Linked DNA regions of Homo sapiens: all the other regions are linked to region 1. Evidence: promoter capture Hi-C in 16 types of primary human blood cells and fetal thymus (Javierre and others, 2016). All regions are on one chromosome and are shown on one strand. Each heading gives the region's core, a stretch centred on a gene start or on the middle of the fragment in contact. The rest is flanking DNA. Distances are from core to core; before and after follow the strand shown. Region 1 holds the start of UBE2U (ubiquitin conjugating enzyme E2 U). Region 2 overlaps LOC105378771 (a long non-coding RNA gene). Region 3 overlaps PGM1 (phosphoglucomutase 1).

Region 1 (2,700 bases), core at 154-2,653:
CTGTCTCTCTATTATCTATATTTACATATTCCTTCATTGGATTCTCTTTCAACAGAGAACTACAGAGCTCAGGATGAGCAGAAACAATATCAAATGTTAGGTCCATGCCCCAGGAATGTTCGCTGTTGGACTCCATAATTGTTCCTAACATCTCCAGTGAATGCAGTACTTTTATAGCAGAGGTAAAAAATGAACAATGCCACTGAACTACACCTGAAGCAACTGTGGGAAGCACTCTATACCTTTCATGGACAGCTTTCTTTCTGTTCTTTCTCTTAAGCACTCCCTCTTCGCCCCCTCTTCCATTTTTCATTTTCCGTAAATCAGCCTGTGGCAGCCATGGACATTGATAACCTCATTGGTGGCGTTTAAGCCCAAGGACATTGCTTCTTTTGTGTTAAAACTATAAAGGGAAGGCATTTATGTGTCATGCTGGTAAAAGTACACTAGACAGTAAGCAGTGGAACACAGGAATTAAGAACTAGGGCTTTGAAGTCCAAAAACCCTGTAATGGAATCATGGGGCAAAATCTTTACAGAATATTTCTGAGGCTTAGGTTTTTGGTAAGTAAAATGAAATACTACTTATTGTATAGTATTATAATTAATGAGCATAAGCCTGCACCTACTAGTCACTAACTACATGACAGACCCTGATATTCAGTGCCTAGATCCACATAAATTACTCTGCATAATATGTTCAATATTGTTAAGCATTATTATTTTGAAGTAATAATAATTGTTATTAATATGAAACACATTACTTCAGTGAAATGGATTTATTAAATAACAATACTGTAGTGGCAAATCAGGTTTAACTAAATTACTACTTATAGAATAAAATGGGTTAAACTGCCTCTTAAAAATTATTGCACAATGAAACACATCTCTCCACGTGCCCAGTACTTACCTTATAATTGTTCTCCTTGAGATCACAGAAGTCTCTGTGCAGCAAGAGGTAAGCTCTGCCGTGCATGATAGGCAGCGGAGGGTCTGACACTTGTCCCCAAATGCCTCAGGTTTACTCTGAGGCAGATGTTTGAAGTTATGGGTCACTTTCCCACACTTAGTAAACTGATATAAGTTACTTGCTTTCTAGAACCTCAGAACGGTACCAAGATAAGCGGCTTCTAAAGTTGGGATATAACAATGACTTTTTCTCCTGACTCCTCTAAACGAGAACTTCCCGAAGGAAGACTTGGGCACTTCCTCATCTGCGGCGTTTCACTGCAGTGCCGGCTCACAGCCCAGTCTCAAGACAAACTTGGATGAGTAACGGAGACAAGCCCATGTCGTCGGCGCGTGAGTGGGAGTGAGAGGTGTACGCCTATCAGGGTCCTAGCAGGTTGTCTTCGCTTCACAGGTGCAACCCCGCAGCCACGCACCGGAGGAAGCAAATCGGTTGCCAACCAACAGGCCCCCGTGGGGCCGCCGAGAGACGGAGGCAGGGGGTTGGCCGCTCTCACCCAATCAGCGACAGGGGGCAGGCCTCTTGCTATCTCCACAGCCAATCCTACAACAGTTTCCCCTTTGAAAGGCCAATGAGATTCGTGGTCAAGGCAACACCACGCCTTCTCAGGCCACGAACATGGACTGTACAAAACTAGTGTAGAGGATGGGGTGAGGTCCCAGGACCCAGCATGTAAGTCACAGAAGCCGTCCCACGAAGTCTTTCTTCGAAATTATCCTTCCTTTTTCTTTGACTATCAAAAGATATAGTAAGTGACTGGTAGGTACAGGTCTGCATAACAATATCTTAACTTACATGGCGAGTTACCATTCACAGTAGTGTGCATGCTATTATGTCATCAAACCCTACAATCACCCTGGGAAAGTGCTCCAGGAACAGGGAACTGCTTAAAATTTCTCTGATTCCCATCTCTTCCCGCACAGTTTCGCACCTGCTGTTCCTTCTACCTAGGAGTTTACCACATTCCTTCCACCCCTTCAGCCCTCATTTCCCCTTCACTCACTCATCCTTCAGATTTTAACGACTCTTTAAGGGATCCTTTCTTTTGTGATCCCACAGGACCTTCTATTTGCCTCCTAGTTAACATTTGCCATACGGCATCACAATTGTCTATTGTCTTCACCAGAGTGGGAACTACTGAAAGACACGGTTCCATTGCCAGCGCCAACTACAAAGCCTGGCATCTTTGTTCAGAATACTTTCTTTTTTTACTTTTTACTTACTAATTTTATAGAATCCGGATGTTCATTTAGTCCATTCATTTTACAAATATTTATTAAATACTTTTTTTTTACTTGAAAGATTCAAATGAAGTAAATGTCTTTATGGCTCCAATATACAATAAACAAGTATGCAAAACAAAAATCATGATTTCAGATGGTGATAAACGTTATGTGGACAATAATAAAACAGTACCATGATAGAGATTGGGGTAGGTCATTAAGGATTAGAAATGGTAGTCAGGAAATGCCTCTGTAAGGAATGGGGTTTTGAACTCATACATGAAAGATGAGAAGGAGCCTGCTACATGAAATATTGAGGGCAGAGAGTTCTAGGAAGAGGAAAACAAGATATTTTTGAGTCAGGAAAGAGCTTGTCTTGAAAAGGGAACAAGGGAAGGTCAGGGAGGTTGTGGAGGAGCCTGGGAGGGGTGTGATAAAGATGGGCACTATACAGTAGGAAGTTTGGGCTTTATTTGAATAGCTATGGGAATCCATTTAATGGGTTTAA
Region 2 (2,846 bases), core at 283-2,782, 520 kb after region 1:
GTGATTATGAAGGCTGAGAAGTCTGAGATCTGCAGGTGGCAACTAGAGACTAAGGCGAGCTGATGGTAGAGTTCCAGTCCAAGTCTGAAAGCCTGAGAACCAGAAGAGCCCATGGGGTAAGTTCCAGTCCAAGTCTGAAGGTAAGAGAGGATTGATGTTGCAGCTCAAAGACAGTCAGATATATAGAGAGAATTATTTCTACTCAGCCTCTTATTCTATTCAGGCCTCGACTGAATAAAGTCCATTCACCTTAGGGAAGACAATCAACTTTCCTCAATCCACAAACACAAATGTTCATCTCACCCAGAAACACCCTCCCAGACACACCCAGAGATAATGCTTCACCAAATATTGGGGCACCTTCTGGACCAGCTAAGTTGACACATAAAATTAACCATCACACCAGGGAAAGAATAAGATGACTATGATCATGCAGGGGATCAAGATTTCTGTTTGAGCCCCATGAATTTGAGGTGCCTAAAAGACATCCAAAAAAGTGACAAATGGACAGTGGGATATAGAAGCTTCAAGTTCTGGGATGAGCCCATGGCTGGAGATCTAAATTAGGAATTTACTGATTTAGAGATGGCTTTGAAGCCACAGAACTGGATGATGCCACCTAGTTAGAGGACAGCAAGTGTCCATGGCAGAATCCTGGCACACTCCAAGATACTCCATGTATATTCATTTGCTAGGGCTGCCATAACAAAGCATGAAAAACTGGATGGCTTAGGACAACAGAAGCTTATTGTCCCACAGTTCTGGAGGCCAGAAGTATGAGATTAAGGTGTCAGCAGGGTTGGTTCCTTCCGAGGCTGTGAGGGAGAATCTGTTGCATGCCCCTCTCCTAGCTCCTGGGGGTTGGCTGGCAACCTTCGGTATTCCTTGAATTATAGATGCAGCACCTCAATCTCCACTTTCATGTCCATGTATTGTTCTTGTGTGTATGTCTGTCCCTTGTGTCCAAATCTCCCCTTTTTAGAAGGACACCAGTCATATTGGATTGGGACCACTCTGATGACCTCATTTTAACTCTACTTCTCTGAAGATTCCATTTCCAAATTAGGTCACATTCTGAGGTACTGGAGGTTAGCACTTCAAAATCTTCTTTGTGGAGGATATAATTCATCCCACAATGCCATGCTAATTCTGCTGCCTCTTCTCTCTGCTCTGGACTTACAACCATTTCATTCCATTTCTGTCCAGATCCTGACCCCACATGCTCCTGTTCAGGGTGCCCGTAGAGATATTAGGTTGGTGCAAAAGTAATTGCAGCCTTTGCAATTACTTTTAATTGCAAAAACCACAATTATGAAAAATGCAATTACTTTTGCACTAATATAATAGTTCTGCAGTTTGATCTTTGGATAATTCCAAGAACTCTGGCTCAGCCCTTGTTCTAGTGGTTTGTACTACTGGTCATTGTGGTAAGAGTTCTGTGCCCAACTCTGACTTCTGGGACCCAAAACTTAACATCAACTCACCTGGGCTTCACAAGTTCCCATGAGAAGGGCATGACACCCAAGCACCAAACATACTTAATTTGTTAGAGAATTAGCAACCTACTCAAGGTGAGAAAACACAGTCATCCATAATGAATAAGACAAAGTTTGAGTGGATGGTTTAATTGTCTCCTGAGATAATGAAGAAATAAGAAACATTTAGACAAAATGGGTAAAGCTGTTGTCTTATTCTATTTGTGTTGCTATAAAGGTATATCTGAGACTGGGTAATTTATTTTTTTTAAAGAGGTATATTTGGCTCTCAGTTCTGCAGGCTGTACAGGAAGCATGGTGTCAGCATTTGCTTCTGGTGAGGACTTCAGGCTGCTTCCACTCATGGTGGAAGATCAAGGATAGCCAGTGTGTGCAGAGATCACATGGTGAGAGGAGAAGCAAAAAGAGAAGGGAGGTGGCAGCCTCTTTTTTAGCAACCAGATTTCTCAGGAACTAACAGACTGAGAACTCACTCATCACCGTGAGAACAGCATCAGCCTGTCATGAGGGATCTGCCCCCATGACCCAAATACCTTCCATTAGGTCCCACTTCCAACACTGGGGACCGAATTTCATTGTGAGGCTTGGAGGGGTCATAGCAGCAAGACTTTAGGAAGAGTGCTGAGGGGTACAGAAGAAGGAAACCTGGATGGCGTCACAGATGTGAGTTCTCATGCTTGCTCTGCCACTAACCTTGATCATATCAAGGGTGTCCTTGGTACAATCCACTTTCTCTTTTTGATCCACTCTTGCCTCATCTTTGAAATGCAAATGCCCTCCCAGTTCTAGCCATCTATGATGATAAGGTGGCCCTGGAAGCTTCAGCCTTATGTGACAGGATTGGATGCTGGTAGAGAGGTTGAAAGCAGAGAATCTGCTGGGAGATCTGAAATGGGATGGGCCTGAAGGCGGGCAAGGGCAGTGGAAGTTGGAAGGACTCCTTATGCCCACAGGTGTCCATGTAGATGCTATAGGAAGGCACAGACAAAAAAGCAAGATTTGAGCTCTCTTCTTGAGGGGCTATCAGATCCCTTTGTTCTAGGCTGGGAAATAGGAGCATCTCTTCCTGGACACTGAACATCTTGTGGTTTCCCTGACTCACTGTCTTCTTAATTCCCAGTATTTAATAAGCTCCTCCCTCTGCCTGGAACTCTTTTTCCACTTCTCTTAACAGTTCTGGCGGTGCCAGGTAAAATCCAGGACACTCAGTTAAATTTAAATAATGGAATTATTTTTAGCATTATTTGGGACTTCCTTATGTTAAAAAAATTATTTGTTGTTTATCTGAAATTCAAGTATAACTGGGCATTCTGTATCTTTATTTGAAAAATTTGGCAACCCTATTTTATT
Region 3 (3,027 bases), core at 388-2,887, 560 kb after region 1:
GCCTCATTACTGCCCCTGGAACTTGGTTTCCTTTCCATAAGGTGCCTTTGGAAGAAGGTAGTTTAAGTGCCTGATAAGCAGGAACTCTGTCCTAACACAAACTTCACTTTACACTCAACAAATGTGAATCAGTGCCAGCATGTACCAAGCACATAAGAAGATACCAAGATGCACAAGGCGTATCCCCTGCCCTCACAGATGAGCACAGACATACAGGTGAGGGAGACAGACAGGCAGGTAACACTTTAAATGAGTGAGTTATAATTAGGGTATAAGCCTAGTTCTACTGGCGTATTCTGTCTAGGCTATCCCCAGACATGGGGTGCTACAATCTTCCCCTGTGGGCTTTGCCTACAGGGAAATGTACTCAGTAGCTATGCAAATTAGAATGGGCAGAAAGCCAGAAAGAAAATCTGATCTCCTACACCACAGAACCAAGTTAGGCACCCTGAGAATAAAGCTCCCGAAGTACCCCTGTACTTCACCTTCTATTGCTTTGCACACCTGTAATTCATGGAGCCCTCTATGAGAAGGCCTTGTTCACCATGTGTCCCAGAGTCTAACTCAGTATCCAGGATAAAATCAAAGTTCAATAAATATTTGAGGAATGAATCAATGCAAAATGTGCAAACATGAAGGACTTTTCATATGAAACTAAAAATTAAAAGAAATTTGCAAAGTGTTAATGCTGTATTTCTTTAAGTTATCACTCCTGTATGATACATTAGCACTAGAACCTTTAAAGACAGGACAGGGAAAAAATATTGCTAGCCTCTAGACCTGACCAGATCATAACTTACATATCTCTAAGTGATACCAAGTTCATCATCAACCTGGTTTCCCATCGCTCTTTCCCAAGCCCCCTATTTTCCTGAGGAAGGGTTCAAATGCATGGTATTGTATACTATTCAGTGACTTCACTTTCAAAGTCCCAACAATTCTAAGGTGGGATGGAACTGACAGTCTGCCCTCTACCATTGTGTATAAACATGTACATAATCATCCACGGTTAGGAAGAAAAAACAGCTTTGTACCATGAGATCAACAAACAACAACAGGCTTATCCTGTCCAGTTCTGGTCCCCATTTATCCCTGGTGTTTGTAATGCTGACCTCTGAAGAAGTAAGTGACCTAGCTTCTGTGGTTACCATATCCAGGTGAGAAAGCTGCTGCTCCTCCAGCACAAACAGACTAATGTATAATGTATACAAACAGACTAATGTATAATGTTAGTAATATTCCAAGATTGTTCTGCAGATGCTAGTGGTTTGTTTTACTCGGTGGACCAGTCCTGAAGTTAGACTCCTTTGCACCTCTTTGCAAGCAAACTTCTTTTCTTTTGTAAAAGTGCATTTCTTCCCGCAAAGACCCTGGGGTTCCCAACCCTGGACTGTGGAGTGGAAGTGGTGTTGAGTCATTACAAGGGTCCCAGACTACGGCAAGAGGTGAGGTGTGGATTCTCCATTGAGGTGGGTGGTTCAGCCAGAAAGCAGTGACCAGTCACTATGGTTCCAGCATCATACAGGAATTTACATCAGATACCTTTTAAAGTTCTTTCTTTTCCAATAGCAGGAATCTGTCTAAATGGAAGGTGCCAAGTGAATAGTGTTCATGAACTCATTCAACAAGCGTTTACTGAGCACCTGTTCTATGCTGGGCTCTACGGGAGGCTCGAGGGACACAATGCAGGATAAGACACATAAGATCTCTGTCCTCATGGCATATACAGCCAACAGACATTAATCAAATAACCATAAGTAATTGTAAAATCACAGCTGCAACAAGTACAACAAAGAAGAGGTACATGGTGCCACAAGAGCCAATAATCAGGGGATTTGGCCCACTCTGAAAGGTCAAGGAAACGTTTTTGAGAAATTGTCTCTCCTATCGCCTGGAAAAATACAGAAATAAAGCACTCTGTGCTCAATTAAGCTATAGAATTCAAATGTTTCAAAGTTCATAGAGTCACTAATGTCTACCCTGAGAAACTCTATGAAAGAACTGTTGGAAACATTCACTAGCAAGGGGCGTGGTTGCTAAAAATTAACTCCTCTATAAATAAGAAGATCAGGAGTTCAGTTAAATAAGCCCAGCTGCACTCGTTCACAACAGCGATCTATGGCTATGCAGCCTGGCTGTTTAAATGTTTATCTCAGAAATATTACACAAAAATTTTCTTTTTTTGAAGAGAGAGAGAGAGAAAGAGCTTGTGATTATCCTCATGATAATGAAGAGCATTCTCTCTTTGGACATGAAATATACCAAGGAGAAGCTAAAACCATGATTGGTACTAGGTATTTGTTGAATGTGTTAATAAATGAGAACAAACTTTAACAATAGTCTAAAGTCTAATACTTTGGTTCAAAGAAATCAATTCCACAAACATAACATGAGAGACTTCCCTTGGCAAATAGTTCTAGGTAAAAACTTTAAGGGTTTAATTACCCACAACCTTATGTGGGCTAAACAGTATTATGCAACTTCCTAAAAACTAACATAAAGGAAAGTTATGTCAAGAAAAATACAGTGTCCTAATCACTAGAAATAATCATCCCACCCCACTCTTCACTTGCCAGGCCAACCCTGGAAGATTTGGGCTCAGTTCTGGGCATCACCTTCTAAGAGTGGCACTGGCAAACTCAGAAGCACCTAGAGTCTGGCACTGAGTCTATAAACAATGTGAAATGAGGAATGACTGGAGGAAACAAAGATGGACGGCCTGAAGAAGGAAGGACCTGAGAGCTGCTTCTTGTATTTGAAGGCCTGTTGTGTAAGAGGAGCAGCTTGTGCTATCCTGTCTTCAGGCCTGTTCCCTGTGGGTCAGCACCAGGGATTCCTACTTGGCTCTGGGGCTCTGATCCCTCTTGACCAAGGCTTCCCACATGGGTCTGTGGAAAAAGAAGTTACTGTACATACTACGAAATGATAATAATAATAATCATTATTGTGGTGATGATATTGTATCATATCATCATAATTATTATATATAGTGGTAAACTATATTTAGGCAAAACTGTACTAACAGGA

What was found. The method cuts DNA at HindIII sites, captures the fragments that hold promoters and counts their contacts. A CHiCAGO score of 5 or more calls a contact.
Region 2: a contact is called between a fragment that was not itself captured here and the fragment with the promoter of UBE2U in region 1, in 3 of 17 cell types (endothelial precursors, non-activated CD4 T cells and fetal thymus). The highest score is 9.2, in endothelial precursors.
Region 3: a fragment that was not itself captured here is called in contact with the fragment with the promoter of UBE2U in region 1 in 1 of 17 cell types (naive B cells); the score reaches 6.5 in naive B cells.

Annotation. Positions count from the first base shown.
Region 1 is chr1:64,202,326-64,205,025 of GRCh38, reverse strand. It overlaps UBE2U (ubiquitin conjugating enzyme E2 U), which reads right to left and starts at 1,403. Exons shown (of 10, transcript NM_001366232.2): 1 at 910-1,403. The coding sequence starts at 975. The HindIII fragment of the contact is 16,836 bases long and covers 1-2,700 here.
Region 2 is chr1:63,679,014-63,681,859 of GRCh38, reverse strand. The region is part of intron 1 of LOC105378771 (a long non-coding RNA gene); the gene reads right to left. Among named protein-coding and RNA genes, the nearest start is that of PGM1, 87 kb to the right of the region's middle. The HindIII fragment of the contact is 1,571 bases long and covers 747-2,317 here.
Region 3 is chr1:63,640,456-63,643,482 of GRCh38, reverse strand. The region is part of intron 7 of PGM1 (phosphoglucomutase 1); the gene reads right to left. Among named protein-coding and RNA genes, the nearest start is that of PGM1, 49 kb to the right of the region's middle. The HindIII fragment of the contact is 5,978 bases long and covers 1-3,027 here.